Linked DNA regions of Homo sapiens: regions 2 and 3 are each linked to region 1. Evidence: promoter capture Hi-C in human tissues and cell types (Jung and others, 2019). All regions are on one chromosome and are shown on one strand. Each heading gives the region's core, a stretch centred on a gene start or on the middle of the fragment in contact. The rest is flanking DNA. Distances are from core to core; before and after follow the strand shown.

Region 1 (3,198 bases), core at 207-2,706:
GATGGGGTTTCACCATATTGGCCAGGCTGGTCTCGAACTCCTGGCCTCAAGTGATCCACCTGCCTTGGCCTCCCAAAGTGCTGGGATTACAGGCGTGAGCCACTATGCCCAGCCTGTAATATTTTATTTTAAGCTGGTGATGGGTACATTGGTGTTTTATTTGTTTTATACATTGTCATCCACTGAAATATTTCTAAATATACAAATAGCTATCCTTGTAATTCAGGCTATGAACAATTTAAGAAAAACAATAACATTATCTCAGTAAAAACAGGATATCATTCAATACAATTCAGTGAACATTTATTGAAGAAAGCATTGGTAAAAGAAATACAATGGGATTTTGCTAATGTGCTGAATACACCTACCAAAACCTCAAACAAACACTATATGTCATGGTGAACTATATCGCTAAAGGCTTCAGGTACTCAAGAATATTGTTCTTCAACATTTTAAATATATATATTTTAATCAAATGATGCAAGGAAAATAGATAAAATTGGAAAGACATATAAAGTTGTTTCATCCATTGTATGTAATATTTTTCTCTTCACTAAGGAATACAAAAAAATTACCATTCTTGGATTCAAGGTCTATAAGCAACAATTAACAGATTTCTATATATTAACAAAAACAAATAGAAGATGTAATAGAAACAATAATCCATACACTAGAGCAACGAAATATAAAATACCTATAAACATTTCAATTTTATAATGACTTTGACAGAAAATATATACAGGCGTTTTAAGGGATAGAAAACATACTAAAGAACATACAAATAGAATTAGAATTATGTAGGGAACTTTAAGATGTTAAAAATGCCAATTCTACCCAAACATATCTTGCTTTGATGATGGAGCAGAAGGAAGAGTGAAGAGAAACCATGGAAGAGGAATGATATTAGCCTGGAACACCCTGACTGCCATTCTCTAGCTCTGAGACGTCAATTTACTTCTGCCCTCAGTTTCACATGTAAAACATACGACAATATAATTAAATATATTATATAATAATATATACATGTGTCTAATAGGGGTATCTGGCATACACAATGGTTGTAAGTATTATGTTAATTTACAAACCTTTTTTTTTTAAACATAGTGCCAGTTACACAGAAAGCACTTAGTGTGTTTCACCTCATCATGTGAGAGAGAGGGGGAAGTTTCAGAAAGTTCACCCTAATCTACAAGGAAGGAGGCGTAATTATCTTTGTAGTATTTTCAAGAAAAGGAAGCTAATTCGGCTTCATGTCCTAGGAGAGGAGACAGAAGGAAATACAAACTTTTAAAATTAAAGACAAGGGAATGGATTCCCCAAGGGCTGAAAATTTAAGTTTTTGTCTTTTCATTTATTTTTCAATAACCATAAAGATTCCAACTGTACGTTAGGTGCTTTTTTTTCTTATTATGGAAACATAAAACCTGTAAGATATTTATATATTTTTGCCTTTCCAGGAAACCACAATCTCACTGAAAATATACACTATTCAGGTAAGTACTAAGAGGTAAGTTAACCAAGCGCAAGCATGACTTTGTATAAGCTAGTGCTGAAATTTCTGCTGAACATGGTGATGATTGATCTCATTTCTTAAGTCATTTTTTGTGCTAAGAATTTTATAAACATTATTCTATTTTATCTGTACAATATTACTTTGAGAAATGTGGTACAATCTGAGGCAGAAGGAGTGGTTACTTGCTCCAGCTTATCAGTGTGAAAGATTGGATAAAATCCATTACTTTTGTTTTTCCATGTCCTGGTATTCCAGATTTGAAAAAGAAATTGACAGTGAATAGATGTCAGAGGAGAAGAGTAGCAGATGAGAACCATAAACAATGATTTGAAAATTTTGGCCACGTTCTCTTTTCTTTTAATAATTTTAGCTCATGCAGGATGAGAATTCCTAAACCAAAATCTAATACCCAAAGCACTCCAAAATCAGAACCTTTTCAGTGCTGACATGAGATGGTGACACTTTTGCTTCCTGATGGTTCACAAACTTTCTCCCATACACAAAATTGTTTTAAAATACTGCATAAAATTACCTTCAGGCTATTTGTATAAGGTATACATAGAACATAAATTTTTTCCTTACACTTGGTTCTATTCCAAAAAAATCTCATTATTAGCTATGCAGATATTCCAAAGTGTGAAAAAGAATCTGAAATCTGCAACACGTCTGGTCCCAAGCATTTTGGATAAGGAATCCTCAACCCGTATTAATGAATGCTTTACATTTGTCATGTATTCTTTTAAGACGTTTACACCTATTTTTAAAATATTTTATTAAACTTCAGAGTATAAAATGTTTATTTACAAAAATATGTTAGATATACATTTTGTAAAATGCTTTAAAATATTACCAGTGCCTTTGAAAAACAGTTTAACTCTCTCTGATTATATAACTTTTCAGGCCCATTTTGTAGGTAGTCATTATTCCAGTATTGCTGTGCTTCATAAGTGATTTTTAGATGTGTGTTTAAATTACTCATAATAGGATTCATGAGGGCATTCCTTGTGATCTACTTTGTTCATTCAACATTCTATTTGTGAGACTCATCAATGCTACTTCTTGTAGTTATGCTTATAAATTCCATCGTTAGTGCACATGCAGGTTGCATTTTTATATTACATATAAAGTTGCTATGCTCATTTTTGCTAATATGAGAGATTTGTTGTTTTGTGTTGTTTCCTGATCATTCCTATTACAAAAGGGTAAAGTCAGTTTAGCAACCTCAGTGGATTACACAGTGGATTACACATGCTGTCTGATACATAATGCTTTACAACTTTTTTGATCAAATTCTGGCCACTCAGTGTCTCTTTTCCATCATCTCCCTCAGTGACTTCTCAATTTCTCAACAAGATTTTCATGGTTTCTGTGTTACTATTGCTCTGGCAGGTGTAGAGTATCACAGTGTCATGAAATCTCATCATGATTTTCATAATTTCTGTGTTGGCATTGCTCAGGCATGTGCACAGTATCACAGTGTCATGAAATATGACCATGAATTTCATAACTTCTGTGTTACTATTGCTCTGGGCCTGTGCACAGTACCACAGTGTCATGAAATCTGATGATGATTTTCATGGTTTCTATGTTACTATTGCCCTGGGTATGTGCAAATGTCACAGTGTCATGAAATATGACCATGATTTTCATGACTTCTGTGTTACTATTGCTCTGGGCCTGGGCAC
Region 2 (3,198 bases), core at 293-2,792, 53 kb after region 1:
ACTTTGTCCATTGATAGATACCTCAAATAGGTGGAAATTCTAGTTATGCACTAAGATGAAACAGTATACTAAATAAATATACACCTATATTTAATAATATTATTTGATTCAACTTCATATATATATATATATATATATATATACTGAAAAATAAGAAAAATATATGAGCAGTTATTTCACAGAAAAACAGACACACGTGGCCAGTAAACTTCTGACATAATTGTCAAGAGTGGTATTTTATCCCCATTCCAGCAGAAAAAATAGAAAACTCAAACAATACTGAATGTTGTTGAGTATGTTTATTAGCAAAACAATTTAGCATTGCCGACTAGAATGAAAACCGATATTGGCACTTTGGAAAAGAAATCAACACCATGTTTTATATTGGACTTTTACATTCCAAACAGTCCAACCATTCTATTTCTCTCCATAGAACCCAAGAAACTTCTTCCAGTATACTAGGAGTCACACAAAGGCATGTTCAAAAGGTTTGTTTCTATGGTAGATATATAAAATTTCTGTGTCTAAATAATATGATAAATAATTTTTCTTGTATTCACAAATTGGAATATTTTACAATAGCTGAAAGCAATATATTTGAGCAATAAAAAAATAGAATGAATCTTAATAATACCATAAAGCAAGCTCAGGAAGATTACTTGCTGCACAATAGCTTTTCTAAAATTTTATGAATCATTAAAGAATCAAAACAAAAGATGTTTAACATCTACATAAAGCTAAATGAACATGAGAATGAGAGGATGTGGAACATTGGGTTTAGGATGCTCAAAATTTTGGCAGTAGAAGTAGTGAAATGGAGTAAGGTGAGGCCACATGTTATATGTAAATTGCTATTGAGTTCTTAGATTTTATGTTGGGTGAAAGGTTCAAATGTACTTTTTAGATAACCAAAATTTAACTACTACTTAAAGGATATTTAAAGAGTCTTTGCTTCCATAATGACAGGCAATTGTAACACTTAGATGCCTATTTCAGTATGAATACAAATAGAATTGTGACATGGTAAACTGAGTGATCCAACTAGTCTTTGAAACACAAGTTTCAAAACAAACAAAACAATTTTGCTTTGTTTTGTTTTATTTTATTTTTTTTTTATGGAGAGGCCTTCCTTTACCTTCCTCTTAGTGTGTGAGCCTTCCTGTGGCCACATCTATAAAGACATGAGCTTGCCTGTGAATTTAGGCAGAAAGTACATAGAGGGAACACAGGGTATTTCAAAAAGCTCCATAAGCAACTAAATTGAGGAGTGAAGAAAAACGGACAAAAATAATGAGATTTTAAAAGGGTCTTTTGCAAATCTCACATATTCCCACTCATATATGGGAACTAAAAAAGATGATCTCATGGAGTTAGAAGATAAAATGATAGATACCAGAGACTGGGAAGAGTGTGTGTAGAAGGAGATGAAGAGAAGTTGATTAGTGGATACAAGCATACAGTTAAATAGAAGGAATATGTTCTAATGCCCGGTAACAGAGTACAGTGACTATACTTAAAAACAATGCATTATACATTTCAAAATAGCTAGAAGAGAGAACTTGAAATATTCCCAAACCCTAGAAATGATAAATACTCGAGGTGACAGACATCCCAAATCCCCTGACATTATCATTATACATTCTATGCATGTAACAGAATGTCACATGTATCCCATAAGTATACAAATATTTGCATCAATAAAAAATAACACAAAATAAAAATAAAGGGCCTTTTTTCCTGGCATTGATCACCGTATGTATTTCCTTCAGGGAGGCATCTAAGTGAGTGGCTATGAGAATCAATGTGTGAAGATGAGCTTCTGAGTCTTTGCATCAGTATGCTCATGATTTATACTAATCTACAATGCCTTAGCACTCTCATGCCTACCTATCATTGAAAGTAAAATATTATCAGTAATATACTACAGCAGTAATTAGGGATGAAAAGGATCTCAGAAAAAAATGGTTTAATACCTCTCACCCCTTTTTGTACAAATATAGATATAAATAAAATTATTGCCTGAAAGATTATCTAGTGGGTTATTATTTATAATATTCTTAAATGCCTGTACATTAAAATATTAAGAAGCAAAGAGAGACTAGAATTAATATCATCTCAACAACTTTTTAGCTTTCAGAGTTTGCCACACAATCTCTCTCAACCACTATTAGGTTTGTTGGACTTATTATAATATCCTTTATATATATACATATATTTTAATTTATATTTATTCTAAAAATGTTTAAGAAAGATTCTGAGGTCTTCTATTACTCAACAGATCATTAACAAAGTTAGTACACAGAAGTCGAAGGGCACTTCCACTGCCCTGAAAGCATTGATAAACTCTACAAAACTTTAATTATTTTGTTTTCCCTTATAATAATGGAGATGGGGTTGATCATTAACAAAGACAGCAAATCACTAATCACAGGCAACTGTTTCTCTGCTCCAAGCACGGGGAAGAAGGGAGTTAATTGGAAGAATGCTGTTCCGAGGCTTGTTAAATCAGGCTTCTGGGATTGTGATATGAAAACTTTTAATGAGTTTGTCAAAGCTGAACACCCACAGAGTCTTATTAAATAGCCTCTCATTAGCAAGAGTTAAAACTTTATTTTATTCACTCCAAAGTTGTAGCTAATTGGAGCCTTATTCTATTAGATAAATTCGGGGAAATTCTCAGAGACTAATAAGAACCCTTTATTAGAAAACCCAAAGGAGACAAACTTGTGTGGTTGCCATGGTGATGCTTGGCAGAGAAATGAGTCTCATACCAGTCAAGTTATCTTTCTATCTCTATGAATTTGAATATTCTAGTATGTCATATGTTTCCTTTTATGCATAGCTTCACTTCATCTAAGTTTTATCTATGTTGTAGCATGAACCAGAATTTTATTCTTTTTTAAGGTTATATAATGTTCCATTGCATGTATATACATTTTGTTTCTCCCTTCATCCATTAAGGAATATTTAGGTCATTTTTTATCTTTTGACTATTGTGAATAATGATGCTATAAACATAGGTATGCAAATATCTGTTCAAATTCAAGCTTTCAATTCTTTTGTGCATAAGCCAAGAAGTGGAATTGCTGGATAACATGATAATTCTTTCACTTTTTAAAGGATGTATCATTTGGTTTCCACAGTGGCTGCAGGAGCAATGCACAGAAGTTCCAATTTCTGCACATCTTCCCCAACACT
Region 3 (3,198 bases), core at 214-2,713, 34 kb after region 1:
GAGGCTGGCAGATGAAGAGCCTTCAGATTAGACTGGCCCTGTCCCACAGGCAAGACCAATCTGCTCTGTCCAGTTCTGACAGTCGCCCAAAGCCTTATAGAAGAGCCTGGTGAGCCTGGGGGGATGGGCATCCCTGGCTGTGATCCACTGCAGTCACTTCAATGCCAAACTGTCTGGGCTTTACGCAGGATGGAGTCCTGCCCCTGTCATCTCTCTAAGTAGCTCTCCTTGCAGCTCAAGTATCTTTGAGAATCATAGAGTCTTGTGCTGCCAGAATTCTGGAGATCCACGTTGAAAGCTGGCTACTCTTCACCTGTTCAACTCATGCCTTCCCCAGGAGTTGCATGCAAGGCTTAAAACCTAGATGATGGCCAGGCATGGTGGCTCACACCCATAATCCCAGCACTTTGGGAGGCTGGATCACAAGGTCAGGAGATCAAGACCATCCTGGCCAACATGGTGAAATCACATCTCTACTAAAATACCAAAAAAAAAAAAAAATTAGCCAGGCATGGTGGCATGCATCTGTAGTCCCAGCTACTCGGGAGGCTGAGGCAGGGGAATCGCTTGAACCCGGGAGGCGGAGGTTGCAGTGAGCCGAGATCGTGCCACTCCACTCCAGCCTGGCAACAGAGCGAGACTCCGTCTCAAAAAAATAATAATAATAAATAAAAATAAATAAATTTTAAACAAGTCTAGATGATGGGTTGATGTGTGCAGCAAACTACCATGGCACATGTAACAAACTTGCATGTTCTGCACACGTATCCCAGAACTTAAATTAAACTTTAAAAAAAGTCATTGCTGCAGACAAATGAAAGCTTTTGAGAGTGGAGAGAAGCAAGACCAAATGTAGACTTGTTTTGAATTAGTATAGTGAATTTACTGGAAAATGCAAAGGATATATCTTAAAGATATAGGCCACATACAAGTCTTTAGTGCCCCTTTAAATTGTCAATCACATGCTTGCATACGTTTAGGCATCTAAGAGCTTATTTACATTTATATCAGCTTAAGCATTTGGTGTTTTTTTGTTTTTGTTTTTGTTTTTGTTTTTTTGACGGAGTCTCACTCTGCCACCAGGCTGGAGTACAGTGGCGCGATCTCGGCTCACTGCAACCTCCACCTCCCGAGTTCAAGCGAGTCTCCTGCCTCAGCCTCCTGAGAAGCTGGGACTATAGGCACGTGCCACCAAGCCCGGCTAATTTTTTTTTTTTTCTGTATTTTAAGTAGAGATGGTGTTTCACCGTGTTAGCCAGGATGGTCTCCATCTCCTGACCTTGTGATCCGTCTGCCTTGGACTTCCAAAGTGCTGGGATTACAGGCATGAAGCACTGCACCCGGCCCAGCTTAAGTATTTGATACAATATACTAGAAATAAGTTAAAAATGTTAACACAATTGAGAAGGCAGGTTGACAGATTTCATTTACTTTGTAATAAATATTCCCTGTTTTAATTTTAATCGCATTTTAATAATCTGTAAAGATTTAAGTTTCTCATTAACACAATTTACTTCCTAAAGAAAGGTAGGCAGCCATTTATGACTTTATAGCAAGTAAAGAATGACAGTATTGGCAAAAAGTAACTAGAGCCTTGGGGTCCACATGGATTTTGTTTCCTAGGAGAAATTCTGAAAGAAGGCATGCCATCTATAATTGATGTCAGGGGATTTAACATTTTGTGGAGGTATAGAATTTAAGGTCCATGATGCTGTAGGGTGGATAGGCCTTCGGACAAGTGGGTCATTTGGACTACTGGAGTTGCTGCTTTTGAATCTTTTCTAGAAGAGAAAGAAGAAAAGGTTGTAATACAGCTCAGGCAGTGATTATTATATTCCAGAGTATAAAGAACCCAGAACTGATTTGGCGAATTTTCCCCTTGATCACCACCTGTGAGTAAGACATATAACACTCTTTAAAAGAAAAAAAATTCCGTTATGTCTTGTGCTGACCTTATATGACTTTATTGAGGAAAATCACGAGTTCATGTGCATTAAAAAGCTTTTGGAACACTATACAGAATCACACAAGTGTAAGCCTTCCTCAACCTGATTATTACAATTAGGTAGTTCTTCACAACTACCTAATTGTGGAGTATCCTGGAAATGTCCTCATTTCTCCTGCAATCCTGGACTCTCTTTCTGTTTCATACTAAAAATGAAGGAAAAGAAGAAAGAGAGACATAGTATTCTTAATGGTTATTTTAATTTATTGAATATTTATTGAAGCTTTATGAGAAACATAACTATCTTCTACCTGGTGGATCTACACCTCAACATGAATTTACAAAAACAATCATATACCAAGTGGTGTCTATCTACTGCTTCAAACATACATGAAAATTTGGACTTAAAAATTTTCTACATACCACCCAGTGTAAATTTTTAGTTTAGAAATTATTGGGGAAGTGATTCACTCCCACAAAGTACCCAGTTTTCTTATTTGTGTTCTTAATTTTTCATGAAATATACTAATTCATAAAATTCTGACAATCAATGTTATAAAGACGAAGTAAAGAAAAATTTAATAAAATCTGATTTAGTTAAATTCCACAGTGTGTGAGACATTCTTGAAATCTGGACACATTGAATATGCTACAATATGTGGTTGGAAATCTTCAGGTTGGTAAAAATCACAAGGTCTAGGGAAAAGCTGGACTCAGTGGGGTTGAGCTTCTTTCCAAAGACTTTGTGCCCACTTAGATCTCTTCATAGTTTATGTGGTTTCTCCTTCTCTGATCGCCATTAATATTCCAAAATTTCTTATCACTTCAGGCCCTCTTAATATTATTTTGTTTTCTTTTTATTTCTATTTTAGCTCTAATTTTAGCACTTATTTTCCTCATATGCCTTCACCTCTCTTCCAGACACTTAATTCTTCCTCTCACTTAGTCAAGTGCCTTCTATCATTTTCCTCATTCTTCTCCATTTTTCATTAATAATTGGCATAAAATCATATGGAAGAATCAAAATAGTTCTAGCAATGTGAGGATTTTACAATTTCATGTGACATTGTAACGCAATTCTATTCTTAAAATGGAAGAGCAAAGAAAGGTACTGCTCCTTCTTTATGTTGATACCTTCAAAATGAGGCTAGATTTTGTATTCATTTAGAGAGGCATCAATATTTTTATATATTCTTGTAGGAAATTTGGATTCCCTCTACATCTCTGCAGGATTAAAATAAAAGAAGTACCTA

The links. Contacts are between HindIII fragments. The study calls those that stand out against the background at their distance.
Region 2: a fragment that was not itself captured here is called in contact with the fragment with the promoter of OR2M3 in region 1 in 3 of the 25 tissues and cell types used here (adrenal gland, small bowel and thymus).
Region 3: a fragment that was not itself captured here is called in contact with the fragment with the promoter of OR2M3 in region 1 in 3 of the 25 tissues and cell types used here (mesenchymal stem cells, neural progenitor cells and small bowel).

What each region holds. Positions count from the first base shown.
Region 1 is chr1:248,195,809-248,199,006 of GRCh38, forward strand. It overlaps OR2M3 (olfactory receptor family 2 subfamily M member 3), which reads left to right and starts at 1,457. Exons shown (of 2, transcript NM_001004689.2): 1 at 1,457-1,493. The HindIII fragment of the contact is 15,210 bases long and covers 1-3,198 here.
Region 2 is chr1:248,249,034-248,252,231 of GRCh38, forward strand. No RefSeq gene overlaps it. Among named protein-coding and RNA genes, the nearest start is that of OR2M4, 19 kb to the left of the region's middle. The HindIII fragment of the contact is 5,547 bases long and covers 1-3,198 here.
Region 3 is chr1:248,229,689-248,232,886 of GRCh38, forward strand. It overlaps OR2M4 (olfactory receptor family 2 subfamily M member 4), which reads left to right and starts at 1,729. Exons shown (of 2, transcript NM_017504.2): 1 at 1,729-1,892. The HindIII fragment of the contact is 3,002 bases long and covers 1-2,964 here.